Linked DNA regions of Homo sapiens: regions 1, 2, 3, 4, 5 and 6 are each linked to region 7. The links are contacts of gene promoters, found by promoter capture Hi-C in human tissues and cell types (Jung and others, 2019). All regions are on one chromosome and are shown on one strand. The core of a region is centred on a gene start or on the middle of the fragment in contact, and the rest is flanking DNA. Distances in the headings are between cores, read along the strand shown.

Region 1 (2,700 bases), core at 148-2,647, 740 kb before region 7:
GCAAAAGAGGGAGTGAGAGACGGGGGAGGTGGCACACCCTTTTAAACAACCATATCTTGCATTAACTCAGAGGAATAACTCACTCATTGCTATGAGGAAGGCACCAAACCATTCATGAGGGATCTGCTCCCATAATCCAAATACCTCCTACTAGGCCCCACTTCTGACAATGGGGATTACATTTCAACATAAGATATGGAGGGGACAAATATCCAAAAACCATATCAGCTATAAACTCAGCAATGGAACTAGTGCGTTGAATGATAGTTCTCCTTTAAGTTCTTTGAGAAATCTCCAAACTGCTTTCCACAGTGGCTGAGCTAATTTGCATTTCCACCAACAGTGTATAAGCTTTCCCTTTTCTCTACAGCCTCGCCAGCATTTGTTGTTTTTTGACCTTACGGTAATGGCCATTCTGACTGGTATGAGATACTATCTATCTCATTATGGTTTTAATTTGCATTTATCTAATGATTACTAATGTTGGGTATTTGTTTCTATGTTTGCTTGCCATGTGTATGTCTTCCTTGGGGAAGTGTCTGTTCATGTCCTTTGCCCACTTTTTAATGGGATTATTTGGTTTTTTTGCTTGTTAATTCGTGTAAGTTTCTTATAGATGCTGGATATCAGTCCTTTGTTCGATGCATAGTTCGCAAATATTTTCTCCCATTCTATTGGTTGTTTGTTTACTCTGTTGATAGTTTCTCTTGCTCTACAGAAGTTCTTTAGTTTAATTAGTTCCCCCTTGTCCATTTTTGTTTTTGCTACAATTGCTTTTGAGGAAAGAATAATAAACACTTACTATATTTTTCAGGAACTATGTACTCATTGGCTCCATCCCTATTTCTCAGACTGAGAATTCTTGCAAGGGCTTGTCTTGTTTCTTCTGTCATCCATGAGGGGTGTGGTACCTGACACATAGCTAGTGTATAGTAATCGAGTTTTGAAGGAATGAATAAGTGAGTGAGTTTTATAGACTCCCAGAGCTAGTAGTGACTCCATTTGACTGAAAAGAAAATCAAAGCTCTGAGATGTGTAGAGGTTTGCCAGCAAATTATAGTTACTTAGTGGTAGGAACAAGTCAAGAGTTCAGGTCCCCTGCCATCCAACCCCACATAATCTGCTCAATCTTACCATATGTTTGAAATTTTAGAAGTGAAAGCTTTTACTTTTTTCTTCTACTTTTTGTAAGTAGTGCTAAATGATTAAGAAAAAGAGAGGGAAATATAATTTAAACTGCCTGTGATGAAAATAAATTAGTAGGAGGCATCCTGAAAGTCCAGTAACTAATATCCATCCACAGCAGCAGGCATATGTTTTTCCTGGCATACTTTCACTCTGAAGGTAAGCAAACACGTAAGTTGGTATTTCATTACTTTAAGCATTTTTATTAAGATGTTTTGTATATGTCAGTGGTGTAGGAAGAGAGAAAGATTAAAAAGAAATTTCTTGTTACAACATATTTTGAAACGTTCTGTATTTCTACAACATAGTTTATTTTTGGTTCTTTTTCTCAGCATGCAATCTTGACAATTTGGAGATAGAAAAATCTCTAACAGACAAGACCAATTTGACAAAAATTCTTCTGTACTTAGAGTATCTGACACAGGCTGCCTACATTTGAATACTAGAGCTTCACTTCCTTATAGCTCTGTAATGTTGGAAAGTAAAAAAGCATTTGGGATCCATATTTTCTCATCTGAAAATGTACTGTTAAATTAAAAAAAATCTCTACCACCTACTTCATCAGCGTGTCAAAATACTCAAAAATGTTACACAAGATAATATATGTAAATCATTTGGCACATTGCCTGACACATTTTAAATACTCTTATCATTTAGCTATTGTTGGAACAAACTGCCTTAAGACTCAGTGTGTTAAAACAATAGAAACCTAAAAAGTTCTGAGCTCATAGAAGTACAGAGTAAAATAATTGTTAACAAGGGTTGGGGTAGTTTGGATGAGGGGAGAGTTCAGGAGATGCTGATTAAAGAATACAAAATTACAGTTAGGTAGAAGGAATAAGTTCAAGAGATCTATTGTACAACATGGTAACTATAGTTAACAATATATTGTATTATTGAAGAATGTGAAGAATGAATGTAGAGTGTTCTCATCACAAAAATAATAACTATGTGAGATAATGCATATGTTAATTAGCTAGATTTAGCTATTACATAATGTCTACATACTTCAAAACATTATGTTGTACATGGCAAATACGTACAATGTTACCTGCCAATCAAAGAAAAAGAAAGAAGGAAGGAAAGAAAGAAAGAAAGAAAGAAAGAAAGAAAGAAAGAAAGAAAGAAAGAAAGAAAGAAAGTTTTTTTTTTTTTCTTGTAAGTTTGTGTAAGTTATTTGTAGATTCCGGATATTAGTGCTTTGTCAGATGGATAGATTGCAAAAATTTTCTCCCATTCTGTAGGTTGCCTGTTCTCTCTGATGATGTTTCTTTTGCTGTGCATAAGCTCTTTAGTTTAATTAGATTCCATCTGTCAATTTTGGCTTTTGTTGCCGTTGCTTTTGGTGTTTTACTCATTAAGTCTTTGCCCATACCTATGTCCTGAATGGTATTGCCTAGGTTTTCTTCTAGAATTTTTATGGTTTAAGTCCTTCTTTAATCCATCTTGAGTTAATTTTTGTATCAGGTGTAAGGAAGGGATCGAGTTTCAGTTTTCTGCATATGGCTAGCCAGT
Region 2 (2,700 bases), core at 148-2,647, 660 kb before region 7:
TATCTGATGGTTTTATAAAGGGGAATTCCCCTACACAAGTTCTCTCTTGCCTGCCACCATGTAAGACATGACTTTGTTCCTCCTTCACCTTCATTCATGATTGTGAGGCCTTCCCAGCCATGTGGAACTGTGAGTCAATTAAACCTCTTTCCTTTATAAATTGCCCAGTTTCAAGAATGTCTTTATTAGCAGTGTGAGAATGGACCAATACGAATGGGAATGGAGGAGTAGAAACATTTATCCAGAGAGCTTGGTTAAATATCTAATCTGAATTTTGATTAGGTCTATCAAATTTTTCTTGAGTGTGAACAAAATTCTAGGCATGACTCCTAAAGACAAGGAATTTACAATCCAATAGGGAGAATGAAGTATACTTAGGAAAGCACGTACACATGCACATACACTCACACAGACACACACAGACAGATATGCACAGTAAAAAAAAAAGATGGTGATCAATGATAAGTAATATGAAAAAAAGCAGAAAGAGCAAACGATAGAGAAGTTCAGACAGGGAGACAAATAGGGAGGTTTTTACTATTAACCAGGCAAAAGGTGACGTGAAAGAAGTGATGATGGAGTGAGGTGGAGTGATCTGAGAAATAATTAGAACTTGGATGCCTGGGGAAAGGAATAGAGAAAGGAAGAATGAGAGAGAGGAGTCATGGATGCCACCAGGTTCTGGTTTGGGTACTGAGATAAGGACACAATTGGAGCCACAGCTTGAGGCCAAGGTCCTAGATACAGAGAGAAGATGATGGATTCTGTTTTTGACATCTTAAGCGTGACATGAGTCTGGGACCTCATGTCGTGGATATCTGGGAGCAATTAGACATCTTAGCCTCGAGATTAGAAGGGCAGTTTGGGGTGAAGATGGGACTATGGGACCCCTCAATGAACAAAGAGAGGCTACTGGCTAAAGCTTTAGAAGTCTCACTTTTTCGCAGTCTCTAGGAAGTAACTGTCTATTTTTGTGTACAGATTGGCTCCAAGGAGTGGTTAAGTGAGGGATTGTTAAATGAAATGCTTTGCAAAATGAAAATGCCATAGGAAAGCTGGTGGATCATCCCAATGATAACAGAAGCGGGTATGCACCCCCCATGCTGGAGAGCCACTGTGCCAAGACTGTCTTTCTTTCTGCTTAAATTCGAATCCTCTGAGGCCTCCCATCATCTTGCCTCACATTCTATGAAAGGCTTTTAGCAAATATCAAAGAAATTGCCAAGTTCAGCTATGAGAATCTCATTGAATTGATAAATAGATTCTTGCTTTTTCTTCCAACTGTTCTTTCCCATAAAATACTTAGTTTTATAAGCTAATAAAGATCAAATGTTAATAATAGTGAATCCTAATATCTGTGCTTACCACGTTCTAGGGCTTTTGACATGAATTATCAGATCTAGCCCTTACAAAAACTAAATGAGGTTGAAGTATCAGCTATTGCCACTATAATGCTGTGGAACAAATCACCTCCCAGAACTCGGTGGCTTAAAAGCAGAAGCATTTATTGTCCCAGATCTGTAGGTTGACTAGGCTGTCTCTGTTGCCCTAGGCTGAGCTTCTCTGGGCTGTTCTGCTTCTCACTGTAGGTCCGGGGTCGGCTTGGGCATTTCTTCTGCACATATCTTCAAACTGCATTCCAGGCTGTAGGGATAATACGAACAGGTATCCAGAGAGAATGCTTCTCATGGTAATGGCAGAAGGAAAGAGGTAAAGAGACACTGTGATTCTTCTTAAGGTACAGGCTTAGAACTGGCACCATCTCATGTCTACCCACATGTTCTTTGCCAAAGTGAGCAACACACCCAAGCTTCTGCCCATGTGGCACAAAAGGAAAGAGTAAAGAATTGCAGTTAATCATTTAATCTACCACAACTGGGTATCTTTATTATCCTCTTTTTACAGATACAGAGTTCTGTATATATAGAGGTTAAGCTTAATGCTTTATCCTTCTGTTTATTCATTTTTCTTTTATTAAAAAAACTAATGTTCTGCATAATATTTTCAAACCTGCCAAACCAGAAATTCATGACACCATCTCTGTTTTAAAGAATCCCACAGTGTATGCTGTGGGAGAGACAAACTTGTCGACACATCATTGTGGCACAGAGCAGGGGAATCCACAACAGAAGTCTCTATGAGATGCCGGAGGAGCCCAGGGAAATGGATGACTCACTCTGCCTGGAAGAGTTGGGAAGCCTCCGTGAATGGAAGAGATGATGTCAACACTGGATCTTTAAGGAAGAAGTGGTCATTGTGCAAAAGAAGGCAGATAAATAAGTTATAAGTAGAAGGCAGAATGTGTCCCATGAGAAGGTGTCTAGACAAATGAGCATCCATGAAAGTATATTAAACAGAGGAATGGCATTCTTGCTGCAATGTAGAGCATGAATTAGAAGAAAGGCAATGGAAGAGAGAGGCAGACATCAAGCAAAACCATAATGAAGTGCAGTCTGAATGAAGACACCGACTTTAGCACAGAGGCCTGCACAAGCATGGGAAGCTGCACACATGTATACACACACGTGTATACACACACGTGTATACACACACACGGGGAAAAAGTCTCAGCATAGATATTTTTAGAAGAGAAAAAAGAACATGGAAGCAATTTCAGCCACTTTCTTTAATTGCTCACCTGATGGTCCTGTGGGATAGGATTTCAGCTAGGGTGTCACACACAGTGCAATTCATCCTGAG
Region 3 (2,700 bases), core at 134-2,633, 750 kb before region 7:
CCTCGGTGTTTGTGTGTAAAGCTGGAGAGAGATCTCTTTCTTCTCATTATTCTTATAAGGGCACTAACTCCACCATGGGGGTCCCACCCTCACGACCTAATCTAAATCTCATTACCTACTATAGGTCCCATGTATCAGTCAGTGTTCTCCAGAAAAACAGAATAAATAGTAAATAGATAGATAGATGGAGACATACATACATACATACATACATATTATAATATTATAGGAATTGGCTCAAATTATTATGGAGGCCAAAGAGTCCCACCATCTGACCTCTGCAAGCTGAAGAACCAGAAAAGCCAACAATATTATTCAGTGTGAGCCCAAAGGCCTGGGAATCAGGAGAGCTGGTATCTGACGGCAGGAGATGATGTCTCAGATCAAACAGAAACAAATTTGCCCTTTGTTCATCTTTTTATTCTATTCAGACTTCAACAGGTTGGATCACGCCTACTCACATTGGTAAGGGTGATCTTTTTTATTCAGTCTCCAGATTCAAATGCTAATTTTTTCCAGAAACACCCAGAAGTAATCCTTTGGTAGCTATTGGGGTATTCCTTAGTCCAGTCAAGTTGATGCATAAAATTAACTATCACATTTTGCCTCCAAATACTGTCACACTGGGGCTTAGGACTTCAACACATGAATTTTGGAAGGACACAAACATTTTACCCGTTAATACAAATCAGAATTTTTTCAACACTTTTACACTTTTATTTTAGGTTCAGTTGTACATGTGAAGGTTTGTTATTAATATATAGGTAAACTTGTGTCACAAGGTTTTGTTTTACAGTTTATTTCATCATCCAGATATTAAGCCTTGTACCCAATAATTATTTTTCCTGCTACTCTCCCTTCTCCCACCCTCCACCCTAAAGTAGACGCCAGTGTCTGTTGTTCTCTTCTTTGTGTTCATGACTTCTCATCATTTAGCTCCCATGTACAAGTGAGAACATGAATTATTTAGTTTTCTGTTCCCGTGTTAATTTGCTAAGGATGATGACCTCCAGCTCCACCCATGTCCCTGCAAAGGACATAACCTCATTCTTTTTTATGGCTGCATAGTATTCCAAGGTGTATATGCGTCACATTTGCTGTATTCAATCTGTCATTGATGGACATTTAGGTTGATGACATGTCTTTGCTATTGTGAACAGTGCTGCAATGAACATTTGCATGCATGTGTCTTTATGGTAGAATGACTTATATTCCTCATGTTGCAAAGAAAAGAGAACACTTGTACACTGTTGGTAGAATTGTAAATTAGTTGAACCATTGTGGAAAGCGGTATGGTGATTCTTCAAAGAGCTAAAAAAGGAACTACCATTTTACCCATAAAACCAGATTTTATATGGAAAATTTTTTCTGAATTCTTTCTCTTTATCCTCACCATTTTCTCCAAGTGTCCTATGCTCTTTCCAGAAAATCCTGTTTTCAGCTTCTCCAGCCACACTGGCTCTTCTTCCTCACAAAATTCCAGTCTCCTGCAGAGCTCACTTGGCAATGCAGAAGTTAGTCAAAATTTCCCCAAATTGAAATTGCAGAGGAGAGTAGAGGAATTTGGGCCCACACTTTCTGATGCAACAGCATGGCCAGAGGTACCTGAAAGGACTTCTGAGAGACATGAGCCATACAGCAGCTTACCAGAAAAAGAATTTTTTAAAAAAGTCTCAACAGGAAGGCATGTTGAAAGAGACACAGGAGGTAGCAAAAATGTGGCTCAAAAGGAACTTAGAGCAATTAGCATGTTAATTCTTTGGTGAAAAAAATAAACAGATATTGCCCCTCTTTCCTGTTCTCATAGAATTTCAGTCTAGGAGAATAAGCAGACAGTATGTGTGTAATTACACAAATATGCTCTAAGATCCATGAGGACATCGCTTTGTCTATTTTTGCTTACCATTGTGTCCCCCAAACTGGGAACTGTGCCAAGCACGCAGGAACTCAAGAACTATTTATAGACTCAGAGAAGGGAGAGAGGGAGAAGGAATAAAGATGACGCTTGACGATTACTAGGTCATATTTGAGAAGGGGCCCAGGAGGAAGATGAGATATTCACAGGAGCCTCTCATGGTAGATGATATCTGTTCAAACCACTGAGGGAAGAGCATGGCGGGAAGACGGCAGAGACTCGGGCGATGATGGCGAGAGGCTGGAGATGGGGCAGGAGCTGGACCACCTAGGCCTTCTAGGCTCGCTCAAGATTTTTCACTTGGCTGTTCAATACTATGAGTAATTGAGTTTTCCTCCTAAACCTCCATGTGCAATTTTTGGACTAAATTAACTATTAAGTCTTTTTCAGTGTTAGCTTATTATCATCCAATCACTTAAGCAATCTTTCTGAGTCATTCCAGTTTGATTAGAATAAAAGTGCTCCCTATTCACAATAGCAAAGACATGGAATCAACCCAAATACCCATCAATACTAGATAGACTGGATAAAGAAAAAGTGGCACATATACACCATGGAATAATATGCAGCCATAAAAAGGGATGAGATCATGTCCTTTGCAGAGACATGGATGGGTCTGGAAGCCATTATCCTCAGCAAACTAATGCAGGAACAAAGAACCAGGCACTGCATGTTCTCACTTATAAGTGGGAGCTGAACAATGAGAACATATGGACACATGGTGGGGAACAGCACACACTGGGGCCTCTTGTTGGGTGGAGTCGGGGGAGGGAGAGTATTAGGAA
Region 4 (2,700 bases), core at 53-2,552, 910 kb before region 7:
AAAAAAAAGATGCTAAGACACGAGCTGCTGTGTCCAGGACTTCCCAGAACCAAGGTGATAACTGCAAAGGCAGGAAAGGGTAGCAGTGCCTGCAAGTCAACCAGACTTGCAGCTGTGCAGTCTGTGGTGTACAGCATGGGCACACTGGAAAGAAGTCTTTCCCATCCAGCGATATCGATTTCTTGGGCATTCGTTAAGAACTAGGGCAGTGGTTCTCATGCAGAGGAGATTTTGCCCCGGGGAGATGATTTTGGCCATGATTGAAAACATTTTTGGTTGCCAAAAATAGGGAAGTTGCCACAGATACGGGAGTTGCCACTGGCATCTATTGAATAGGGAACACAGATGCTGTCAAACACCCTATAGTTCCCATAACGAAGATTTATCAGAACCCAAAGGTCCGTAGCCCTTCAGCTAAGGAATCCTGGACTAGGGTGTTGTTTAAAAGCTTCTCAGGGATTCTCAACAGGAGAGAGAAAAGGAACTTCCTTGACATAAAGAGTTGGGGAAAAGTTATATCAGCTAAGCACCTGCCATGTGCCAGGTCTAGCACATGACTTTTCTTAAACCTCACAACCAAGGATAGACATTGTAACTCCATTTTACAAAACAGGAAATAGGACCTCAGAAAGAGAAATTACTACGCAATAAAAAGCTCAATTTAGCTGGGGTTTAAACTCAAATCTGTTAAAGGCGAAAGCGGAGACTAGTTTTTTTTTTCCAGTTTTAAAATGTAAATCGTTTTCATTGATTTTACAATTCTTAACAAGGCAGGAAAATGTCATTATGCTCATGACTAGCTTTAAGCATCAATAAGTTTAGTCTGATTTTACTAGATTTTTATAAATATAAACATTTTGCTATTAGAATTCTTATGTAATCATTAAGATTTTGTTTAACACAGAAATATTAGGCATAGCTTTATTGGGAAGTTGAGATTACAGGTTATTTTCATTAGTGTCTAAATTTTTCTGAACTTTGCAATTTTAAAAATGATTAGCATATGTTAAAATTATAAAGTTGCCAATTAGGTTTATTTTAATGTGATATAAATACACAATTATTTCAAGATACACAGTAAATTGCACAGAGGACATAGACTCATTTATTTGGGGATTATATAGATTTGTTGGCTGTGAAATCTAAAATCAGAGTCCATTTATTATCACATGTAATTATGTGTTACAAGAAGTGGACACAAATTTAAAAAGAAAAACAGGTATGCAATTTATATTTCCAGGGGGCTTTTAAAATATAGTTTTGCCTAAACTGATCAAAATATTTGAGGTGCCTTCTCCTCAAAACTGCCTGTGAAGTTTCTCTGGGTAACCCCACAGCTGACTCTAATTTCATTTTCTCCACAATTATTCTACCCATTATTGGGTGTAATATCCTCCACAACTCCACTCTCACAGCGACTTGCTAGAATTTCTGCATTGTTGTTAGCTGTCTCCCCCGAATTATAAGTCCTATAAGGCCAGGTTTTATGCTTATTCAACTATATATCCCCTTATCACCCAATGCAGCGTCTTGCACATAGTCGGAAGCCAATAGATTCTTGCTTAGATGAAATAATTCTAGCCCTGGGGCCAAGGTGCTAACATTGCCATGATCTCGGAGAAGGAAGTGGTGGGGTATTGCAAATAGCGTCTATGCTTAGCAGGCACATTTATACGTAGGGTTAGTGCCCTCTATTTTTAATTTACTTGATTATTCTACAATATCGACTTTTTTTTTTTCTTAAATAATTCTTTATTTACATCCAAACATCAAAAGTCATTCAAGTTGAAGCCCTTCCCACAAGCATTAAGTTCTGCTCACAAAATGTTCAGGAACATTAAAAATCTCTGACATGAAAAATGTGTTACATCACAAGATTTTAAGATGAACGAAGTAAATAAATATGTAGCTCTGCACTTGTGGAGCAGCGGTAGGCAGACCTGCGAGACGACTCTGGCCCAAAGCTTAAGGCTGCATCATCCGTCAGGTGTGGATGAGATCCATCGAAACAGTGAGCGACGCCTGCCATCTACAGGCCACAATGTGTATTGCCGCATAGGTGCCAGTAGACCTTGAATTTAAGAAGCCTTGGGGGATGATACTCAGCGATGTGATCTCGAAGAGACTGTCCTATGTTGAATTATCATTCAATGTAAAAATATAATCAAATAATTATAACCATTAATAGATAACAGGTGACACTTCCCTTCACACTTTCCTCTGTGTAATTCTTACTTTACAAAATTGAAAATGAAGAGCTTTGTGTGTCTTCCACTTTTATTATCATCATGGTGCTTTGTCCTCCTTCACTTTGTGATTATCTCTGTATACGTCTGCCTTCCCCAGGAGCCAACTAACTCACGCGGTGCAGGGGACCCATATAATTCATCTATGTATACGCTCTTGCCTAGAGCAGGGTTTGACACATGGCAGGTATTCTACAAAGATTTGATGCATGAGTGCTTAAGGGAATGAATAAATAAATGAATAAGTAAATCAATCAAAAACTAATTATTTTCGAGTCACCTTGTTCTAAATTACATATAAATTTATGGAGAAAAACTGTAGTCTAACATAGATATATATGTATGTATACATGTTGAGCACAGTGTCTGCCCCACAGCAGGTTCACAGTAAACATTATCTACATTAGACTATAATGTATGTGTGTGTACATATATCTAAGCATATGTGTTCAGT
Region 5 (2,732 bases), core at 207-2,706, 860 kb before region 7:
GTGTGGTAGCTTATACTGTAATCCCAGCATTTTTGGGTGGTCGAGGTGGAAGGATTACTTTGAGTTCAGGAGTTTGAGACCAGCCTGGGGAAGATAACAAGACCCTCATCTCTACAAACAAATAAAAATTTAGCTGGGCATGGTAGTGCACACCTGTAATCCCAGCTCCTTGGAGGGCTAAGGCTGGAGGATCACTGAGCCCAGGAATTCAAAGCAGCAGTGAGCTACAATTCCAGCCTGGGTGACAAAGCAAGAGCCCTGCCTCTAAAAAATAATAATAATAAAATAGATGATATTTTCATCACTATTTCCCTTATATCCCTGGTGATCCAGTAAATGTTTAGCAATTGCTCTACGGGAGGGAAAAAAGGATGATTTACAGAATTTGAAGATTTATTTGGTGTAAATTTCTCCACCATGGTTGATTTCAACTTACTAGCAAAAAGTTATTGACCATAGGGCCGGGCGCAATGGCTCACACCTATAATCCCAGCACTTTGGGAGGCTGAAGCAGGCGGAGGTCAGGAGTTCAAGACCAGCCTGACCAATATGGTGAAATCCCATCTCTACTAACAATACAAAAATTAGCAGGGTGTGGTGGCGTGTGCCTGTGATTCCAGCTACTTGGGAGGCTGAGACAGGAGAATTGCTTGAACCCGGGAAGCAGAGGTTGAAGTAAGCTGAGATTGTACTACTGCAATCCAGCCATTAGCCGGGTGTGGTGGCATGCTCCTGTAGTCCCAGCTACTCCGGAGGCAGAGGCAGGATAACGGCATGAACCTGGAAGGCGGAGCTTGCAGTGAGCTGAGATTGCACCACCTCACTCTAGCCTGGGGGACAGAGTGAGACTCCATCTCAAAAAAAAAAAAAAAAAAAAAAGAAAACTAATATATCTATTAGATTTTTATATTACTTGTCTTGGGGTAGAGGGGTGTGTGTGTATGTGAACCCATTTTTCAACAAATTCTACTCCTCTCATGCATTTTTATGATAGTAGGTATTGTTTGTGTTTGTAAAAACCAAGGTAGAGGCTGAGTTGACACTCTTCTCACATGCAGTACCAGAGACTGCATGAAAAAAGAGACAGTATAGAGAAAGAAGAGGATGGCATAGAAATAACCATGTCACATAGTTATTTCTACACAGAAATTATTTCTACAGTTATCTACACAGACCCAAATGCTCTGATTTTTCTAGCAATTCTCAAGCTTCCTTTACCTTGAGAGCACAGGTGTTATTATCTCAATCTCAAGGGGCAGAGAGAATCTAGTGGACACCTAAGTACACGCATGGTGTGGTTTGAATGTGTCCCCCAAAATGTAATATGTTGGAAACATATGAACTTTTTTTTCTTCTTTTTTGGGGTATGCTGATTTCATATTCCCCTACCACAGGCTGGCTTTTCCATATAGCAAGGCATATGTGGTCATAAACAACTTCCAGGCTCACACTGACATGATGTCATTATATCAATGGAAATGTCTCTTCTCTTGTAGCTCCAGTATGAAAAACTCTTGGAAAGAATTCTTACTGACCTGCCCTGAATCAGATAGGTAACAGTATTGAGATGTGGGACATGTAACAGGGGGAATGAATTAATGTCATTATTTCAGGAGTGAGTAAATTCTATAAGGAGTAATTTAGTTCTCTTGCGAGTAAATTCATTCTCTTAAGAGTGGATTGTTATAAAAGCAAGCTTTGTTTGGTCTTACAGTCTCTTTCACATGTGTACAGTTGCCCTTCCACTTTTCTGCCATGTTATGACACAGTACAAATGTCCTAGCCAGAAGCTGCCACCATGTCCATGGATGTTCCAGCCTCCAGAACCATGAGCTAAATAAAGTTACAGTCTTTATAAATTACCTAGCCTAAAGCATTCTGTTACAGTAACAGAAAATGGACTAAGATAACACAACTGCAATTTACATTTCATCTTGCAACCATTGGAAGCCACTGGATGCTCTCAACATAGGAAATAGATCTGATCAGATTTGCATTCTAAAAATTCTGTTATTCTGAAATATTCTCCATTATAGTATGATTGACCATGATGGACGATTGTCTGAACAGGAGCAAAACAATGAGGATGAATACAAGTTAGGAGATTTTTGCAAGAAATTATGGGCAAGATCTTTTAAGAAACAAAATCAGAACAGTAGACTGGGCATGGTGGCTCATGACTGTAATCCCAGTACTTTGGGAGGCCGAGGCAGGTGGATCACTTGAGTCCAGGAGTTCAAGACCAGCATGGGCAACATACTGAAACCCCGTTTCTACTAAAAATACAAAAATTAGCCAGGTGTGGTGGTGCATGCCTGTCATCCCAGCTACTTGAGATCATGCCACTGCACTCAAGCCTGGGTGATAGAGCCAGACCCTATCTAAAAAAAAAAAAATAATAATAATAATAATTAGAACTGTGATAGTAAAAATGCATAGCAGAGATAGAATTCAAGATAGTAGTTAGTAGATAGAATATGTGGATTTTGATAACTACTGTCTTTCTACCATAAGGCTTCAGGTTAATCAGTCATCTTAGCCTGTGATCAACTGCTTCCTTTATTATGTTATCTTCAGTAAAAGGACTTCCAAAACTCATTAGAAAAGCAGAAAGCTGGAGTGAAAATAACATAGACTTTGAAATGATACAGGTGATTTAACCTAATTTTCCTCATATATAAATGGAATAAATATCTATCTTGTAGAAATTTCACAAATATAGCAGAAATTAC
Region 6 (2,700 bases), core at 47-2,546, 710 kb before region 7:
ATTGTTGCTTTATTTCTCTGCTCTCTTTTATAACAAAAGGTCTTAAAAGCATTGCTAATTGCCACTGTCCCCATTTATTCACCTTACATTCTCTCCTCTATAACCTCCAATCAGCACCAATACCTCAATTAGCAAGGTTTCAAATCACCTTTACATTGCAAACTTCTGTGGCTATGACTTTACTTTTAATGAATTTGATCTCATAGCATTATTTGACACAGTTGATGACTCCATCCTTCCTGAAATTGTCTCCTTTATTGGCTTGACTGAAACTCCATGCTTCTGGTTTTTCCCTTTACCTCCCTGAAGCAACCCTTTGCTGATTCCTTTCCCCCTCTGTGACCGTAAACTCATTCTTGGACATTCACCTTTCATCAACATTTACTCTCCCGTTTACCCAGTCTTTTTCCTTAAACCCCATTGGCATAGGAGGAATCTAAAATGTTTCCTTAAGTCCTAAGTTATTTCCAAAATTCATATATACAACTACTGTTTGGTATCTCTATCTGGTTTTCTGATAAGCACCTCAAAATTAACTCAATTCTCTCTTGATTCTCCCTTGGTTTCTCCCTTTCAGTACACCTGCCAGTCTTCTCAGTCTTAGTTGATGGCAGCACCATCTGCCCCATTGCTTAGGCCCAACATCTAGGATCTATCCTGTCTTCTGTAATATCCAATTCATCAGTGTATCAGGTTGACTCTTTTTCTAAAGCATATTTCAAACCTGATTATTTCTCTCAATATTCTCTGGCTGCTTCCTGGTCCAAACCACCATTTTCTCTCACATGAACTGTTGTAATAATCTACAAAATAGTTTTCCTGCTTTTACTCATACCCCACTACATAACCCATTCTCCATATTGTGAGCAGAGCCATTGTATTGTCTGTTTTCATAAAGACATACCTGAGACTAGGCAATTTACAAAAGAAAGAGGTTTAATTGGACTTACAGTTCCATGTGGCTGGGGAAGCCTCACAATCATGGTGGAAGGTAAGCAAGAGCAAGTCACATCTTACGTGGATGGCAGTAAGCAAAGAGAGAGCTTGTGCAGGAAAATTCCCCCTTATAATAACCATCAGATCTCGTGAGGCTTACTGTCATGAGAACAGCATGGGAAAGACCTACCCCCGTGATTCAACTACCTCCCAGCGGGTCCCTCCCACAACACATGAGAATTCCAGATGGGGGACGCAGTGGGGACACAGCCAAACCATATCAGTCCGCCCCCAGCCCCTCCCAAATTTCAAGTCTTCACATTTCAAAACCAATCTTGCCTTCCCAACAGTCCCCCAAAGTTTTAACTCATTTCAGCATTAACTCAAAAGTCCACAGTTCAAAGTCTCATCCAAGACAAGGCAAGTCCCTTCTGCCTATGAGCCTGTAAAATCAAAAGCATGTTAGTTACTTACTAGATATAGGTATTGTACAGGCATTGGGTAAATACAGCCATTCCAAATGGGAGACATTGGACAAAGCAAAGGGGCTACAGGCCCCATGCAAGTCCAAAATCCAGCAGAGCAGTAAAATCTTAAAGCTCTAAAATGATCTCCTTTGACTCCAGGTGTCATATCCAGGTCACACTGATGCAAGAGGTGGGTTCCTATGGTCTTGGGCAGCTCTGTACCTGTGGCTTTGCTGGGTACAGCCTCCCTCCTGGCTGCTTTCACTGGCTTACACTGAGTGTCTGCGGCTTTTCCAGGTGCATGGTGCAAGCTGTCAGTGGATCTACCATCCTGGGGTCTGGAGGACAATAGCCATCTTCTCACAGCTCTACTAGGCAGTGCCCTAGAAGGGACTCTGTGTGGGGGCTCCAACCCAACATTTCCCTTCTGCACTGTCCTAGCAGAGGTTCCCCACGAAAGCCCCACCCCCACAGCAAACTTTTGCCTAGACATCCAGGTGTTTCTGTACATCTTCTGAAGTCTAGGTGGAGGTTCCCAAACCTCAATTCTTGACTTCTGTGCACCGGCAGGCTCAACACCATGTGGAAGCTGCCAATGCTTGGGGCTTCCACCCTCTGAAGCAACAGCCTGAACTGTACCTTAGCCTCTTTTAGTCAGGTTGGAATGGCTGGGACGCAGGGCACAAAGTCCCTAGACTACACACAGCACAAAGACTCTAGGCCTAGCCCACAATACCATTTTCTCCTAGGCCTCTGGGCCTGTGATGGGAGGGGCCACTGTGAAGACCTCTCATATGCCCTGGAGACATTTTCCCCAGTGTCTTGGGGATTAACATTCAGCTCCTCGTTACTTACGCAAATTTCTGCACCTGGCTTCAATTTCTCCTCAGAAAATTGATTTTTCTTTTCAATCACATTGTCAGGCTGCAAATTTTCTGAACTTTTATGCTCTGCTTCCCATATAAAACTGAATGCCTTTAACAGCACCCAAGTCACATCTTGAATGCTTTGCTGCTTAGAAGTTTCTTCTGCCAGATACCCTACATCATCACTCTCAAGTTCAAAGTTCCACAAATCTCTAGGGCAGAAGCAAAATTCTACCAGTATCTTTGCTAAAACATAACTAGAGTCACCTTTGCTCCAGTTCCCAACAATTTCCTCATCTCCATCTGAGAACACCTCAGCCTGGACTTTATTGTCCATATCACTATCAGGCTTTTGGTCCAAGCCATTCAATGAATCTCTAGGAAGTTCCAAACTTTCCCCCATTTTCCTGTCTTTTGAGATCTCCAAACTG
Region 7 (2,700 bases), core at 179-2,678:
ACAGGCTGAGCCGAGGCCTTAGATGAGAGGATGGACTGGAGAGTAAAGAGGGAGGGTTGCCCCTGCATCGAGTTTTTGGACCCTGATCCCACACCAGCTTCTCGGTCTCGTACCCGCCCTTCCGAAGAACTCCAGCAGAAAGGTCCAGCGGTCCCCTGTGCTTGAGGCCTACAGAAGCTTGTACCCAACTAGGGCAGGCACCCGGGTCTTCCAGACCACAGGACAGGACAGGCCACGGCTGAGGAGGCCTCTCTCCTGCCTCCAGGATGAACTAAAGACCCAATCCGGGATCTTCGGCCTAGGGCTGCTCTCCCAGACCTGGGGTCTGAGAAAGCCAAACCAGCCCTTTCCCCAAAGCTCTAGTTCTGCAGATTCTCAGCTCTGGCCCACTCGGAGGTGTTCTTCACCACCTATCCACCTACTGTGGGGCCCGGCCCTGGGACCTTGAACTGGCAGGTCTCTGGTCCAGAGCTAGGTCACTGGCTACCTGAGGTCTCTGAACCCCTCACTTTTCCGCTTCCCTGATTTTGGGGATTTGGGGACAGACACGGCAGAAAGCACTGGCGACGAACTCAAAAACTCCCGAACGCAAGGGGCAGCGGTTCTCCCAACCCAGTCTAATGCACATTGGCCCAGGATGTCTCAGGCCTCACCCCAGGACGTAGGGCTCTGAGGAGCTACTCCGGTCTCTCGCGGGCTCAGTTCCCGAAGTGATAGAGCAGCTCGCGCCAGAGCGCAGAACTTCGGGATTTGGCCAGCCTCCGAGCCCCAGGGCGCAGGGTGCTCAAGCCGACCACCCCACTCGGCGTGGTTGCCCTCCGCGTCCATCCCCTCAGCCCGGCCCCCATCCCCGCGAAGCCGCAGCAGACCTGAGACGCTGGCGGACATCTCGCTGTCGCTCCGGCCCGCGGCTTCCTCCTCTAGGTCTTTGGAAGCGGCCAGCTCACAGACCGGCTGGCCGAGGCTCAAGGATCCCCCCGCAAGGCCGGCCCCGCTGGCCCCCCGCGCGTCCGCGCAGCGCCGCCTGCTCTCGTTCTCCTCGCTGAGCGCGGAGTCCGAGTCCCAGCCTTCCGGGCTCTCCGCAGTCCGCCCCGCAGCTGTTCTGGTACCGGCAGGAGACGCCAGCAGAGAGTCCTCGGCGCCCCCCAACGCGCCCGCGTCCCTCTCCCCAAAGAGCCGCCAACAGCAGACAGCGGGAGCCGCGGCCACCGATGCCGCTGTGCCCCCGGGCGCCGGGCGCCCCTCTGGCGCGGCCAGCCCGCCGCGCTCCTCTTTCTTGTTGAGGATCGCCTGGATGGAGAAGGACGTCAAGGTGTTGGCGCCGCGCACAGCCATCTGCGCCGCGGGCAGGAGCGGCCGGCGGGGCGGGCAGCTGGGGCGCCGAGCAGCTCCGAGCGGGACAGAGAGCGCCGGCGGCCGCAGCGCGAGTGAGCTGGGTGTGCGAGGCCGCCGCCGCCCACTGCTGCGCGGCCCAGCAGCTCCCGCCCCACTCCGTCCCAGGATCAGCGCCGACCCTCGCCCCCACCTTAGAGGCCCACCCCGCCCGGAGACCCCCTCCCCCCGAATCCAGAGCCAGACGCTCTCCTTTCGCAGCTCAGCTGGATTATCTCATCGCTTCTCGCCCTTAGGGGCGGGCTGGGGTCTGCCCCCTCGGGGGACGTGAAGGAGGATTGGCGGGGGCCCCTCCGTGGCAGCAGTCCCCTCCCGAGCGCCGCCGGGGCGCACAGCCCGAGTCACTTTTTCTTTGCGCGTCTGTCCCTTCCTCGCCTGCAGGATTTCGCTCCTGGCCCGTCCTCCCCTTCCCTGCTGGGCAGGCTCTTCCGGAGCCCACCCCCGGCGGCGGCGGCGGTAGCCGCGGCCGCGGCCGCTGGATTCCGAGAGGCGCGGGGAACTTTTTTACCCCCTGCCCTGGTTTTATCTGTTTCTTTTCTCTTTCCTTCCCTTGCGTTCCACTGTACCACCCCCCTCCCGCCCGGGTGTCATTCCTCACTGCTGAGTGACAGCCTGAGGCCACACCCCTCCACTGGGCTGTCCCGGGCGCTCCCGGCCGTCCATTGGCTGGCTCCAGTTGGGCGACGTTGACTTTAACAGACAAAACTGGGCACGTTGCGCCGCTAAAGACAGGGTCTGACTTAACCCCTTCTCTCCTAAGCCTGGTCCTCGAAGCACCCTCCAGCAACAAGGAGGCTCATCCGACCCAAACCACGTTTCTTACCTCTGCAGATGTATCCACTTATTCCAGCGCTTTAACAGAACACTGATACTAAGTTGAGTCAAATCTGCGGAGAAAATCCAAGATAATGCAGTTCCATAAATCATGCTCGTAGTTTCTGTTCTCTAGGAAGGATTATAAACACGAAGAACAAAATGCATCCTTTTTTTTCTCCCTACAGTTTCGCCGCTTCTTCATTGCTAATGCTCTTTGCTGAAATGATCAGTTAATTAAGATCACTCTAGAAATATTTTTCTTTCCTCGTCGTCTTTGATTTGATTCGATTTTTATAGAGGAATTATAAAAAAATGGTATAGTTAGAACTAAAGTCAGGAGAAGAATTGAAAGGCATCTTTGGGAGAATTTCTGTAAATTTTATGGTCGTTTCCCTGGCAGACCAATATTGAATTTAATTGGAGTTTGTTAAGTTTTGCATCAGGAAGAAAAAAAAAACTTTCAATTTGTTTTTTTTAAATATCTCTTACTTG

The links. Contacts are between HindIII fragments. The study calls those that stand out against the background at their distance.
Region 1: a contact is called between a fragment that was not itself captured here and the fragment with the promoter of NKX3-2 in region 7, in 4 of the 25 tissues and cell types used here (H1 embryonic stem cells, dorsolateral prefrontal cortex, lymphoblastoid cells and 1 more).
Region 2: a contact is called between a fragment that was not itself captured here and the fragment with the promoter of NKX3-2 in region 7, in 4 of the 25 tissues and cell types used here (H1 embryonic stem cells, dorsolateral prefrontal cortex, heart right ventricle and 1 more).
Region 3: a fragment that was not itself captured here is called in contact with the fragment with the promoter of NKX3-2 in region 7 in 4 of the 25 tissues and cell types used here (aorta, lymphoblastoid cells, mesendoderm cells and 1 more).
Region 4: a fragment that was not itself captured here is called in contact with the fragment with the promoter of NKX3-2 in region 7 in 1 of the 25 tissues and cell types used here (lymphoblastoid cells).
Region 5: a fragment that was not itself captured here is called in contact with the fragment with the promoter of NKX3-2 in region 7 in 2 of the 25 tissues and cell types used here (dorsolateral prefrontal cortex and lymphoblastoid cells).
Region 6: a fragment that was not itself captured here is called in contact with the fragment with the promoter of NKX3-2 in region 7 in 2 of the 25 tissues and cell types used here (lymphoblastoid cells and neural progenitor cells).

What each region holds. Positions count from the first base shown.
Region 1 is chr4:12,806,942-12,809,641 of GRCh38, forward strand. No RefSeq gene overlaps it. Among named protein-coding and RNA genes, the nearest start is that of LINC02270, 580 kb to the left of the region's middle. The HindIII fragment of the contact is 4,363 bases long and covers 1-2,700 here.
Region 2 is chr4:12,887,080-12,889,779 of GRCh38, forward strand. It overlaps LOC105374493 (a long non-coding RNA gene), which reads right to left. Exons shown (of 3, transcript XR_007058047.1): 2 at 2,639-2,700. Among named protein-coding and RNA genes, the nearest start is that of RAB28, 600 kb to the right of the region's middle. The HindIII fragment of the contact is 4,723 bases long and covers 1-2,700 here.
Region 3 is chr4:12,789,822-12,792,521 of GRCh38, forward strand. No RefSeq gene overlaps it. Among named protein-coding and RNA genes, the nearest start is that of LINC02270, 570 kb to the left of the region's middle. The HindIII fragment of the contact is 5,373 bases long and covers 1-2,700 here.
Region 4 is chr4:12,631,227-12,633,926 of GRCh38, forward strand. No RefSeq gene overlaps it. Among named protein-coding and RNA genes, the nearest start is that of LINC02270, 410 kb to the left of the region's middle. RefSeq lists an enhancer at 2,078-2,137. The HindIII fragment of the contact is 4,665 bases long and covers 1-2,700 here.
Region 5 is chr4:12,686,528-12,689,259 of GRCh38, forward strand. No RefSeq gene overlaps it. Among named protein-coding and RNA genes, the nearest start is that of LINC02270, 460 kb to the left of the region's middle. The HindIII fragment of the contact is 4,651 bases long and covers 1-2,732 here.
Region 6 is chr4:12,830,406-12,833,105 of GRCh38, forward strand. No RefSeq gene overlaps it. Among named protein-coding and RNA genes, the nearest start is that of LINC02270, 610 kb to the left of the region's middle. The HindIII fragment of the contact is 5,364 bases long and covers 1-2,700 here.
Region 7 is chr4:13,543,080-13,545,779 of GRCh38, forward strand. It overlaps NKX3-2 (NK3 homeobox 2), which reads right to left and starts at 1,429. Exons shown (of 2, transcript NM_001189.4): 1 at 870-1,429. The coding sequence starts at 1,335. The HindIII fragment of the contact is 14,287 bases long and covers 1-2,700 here.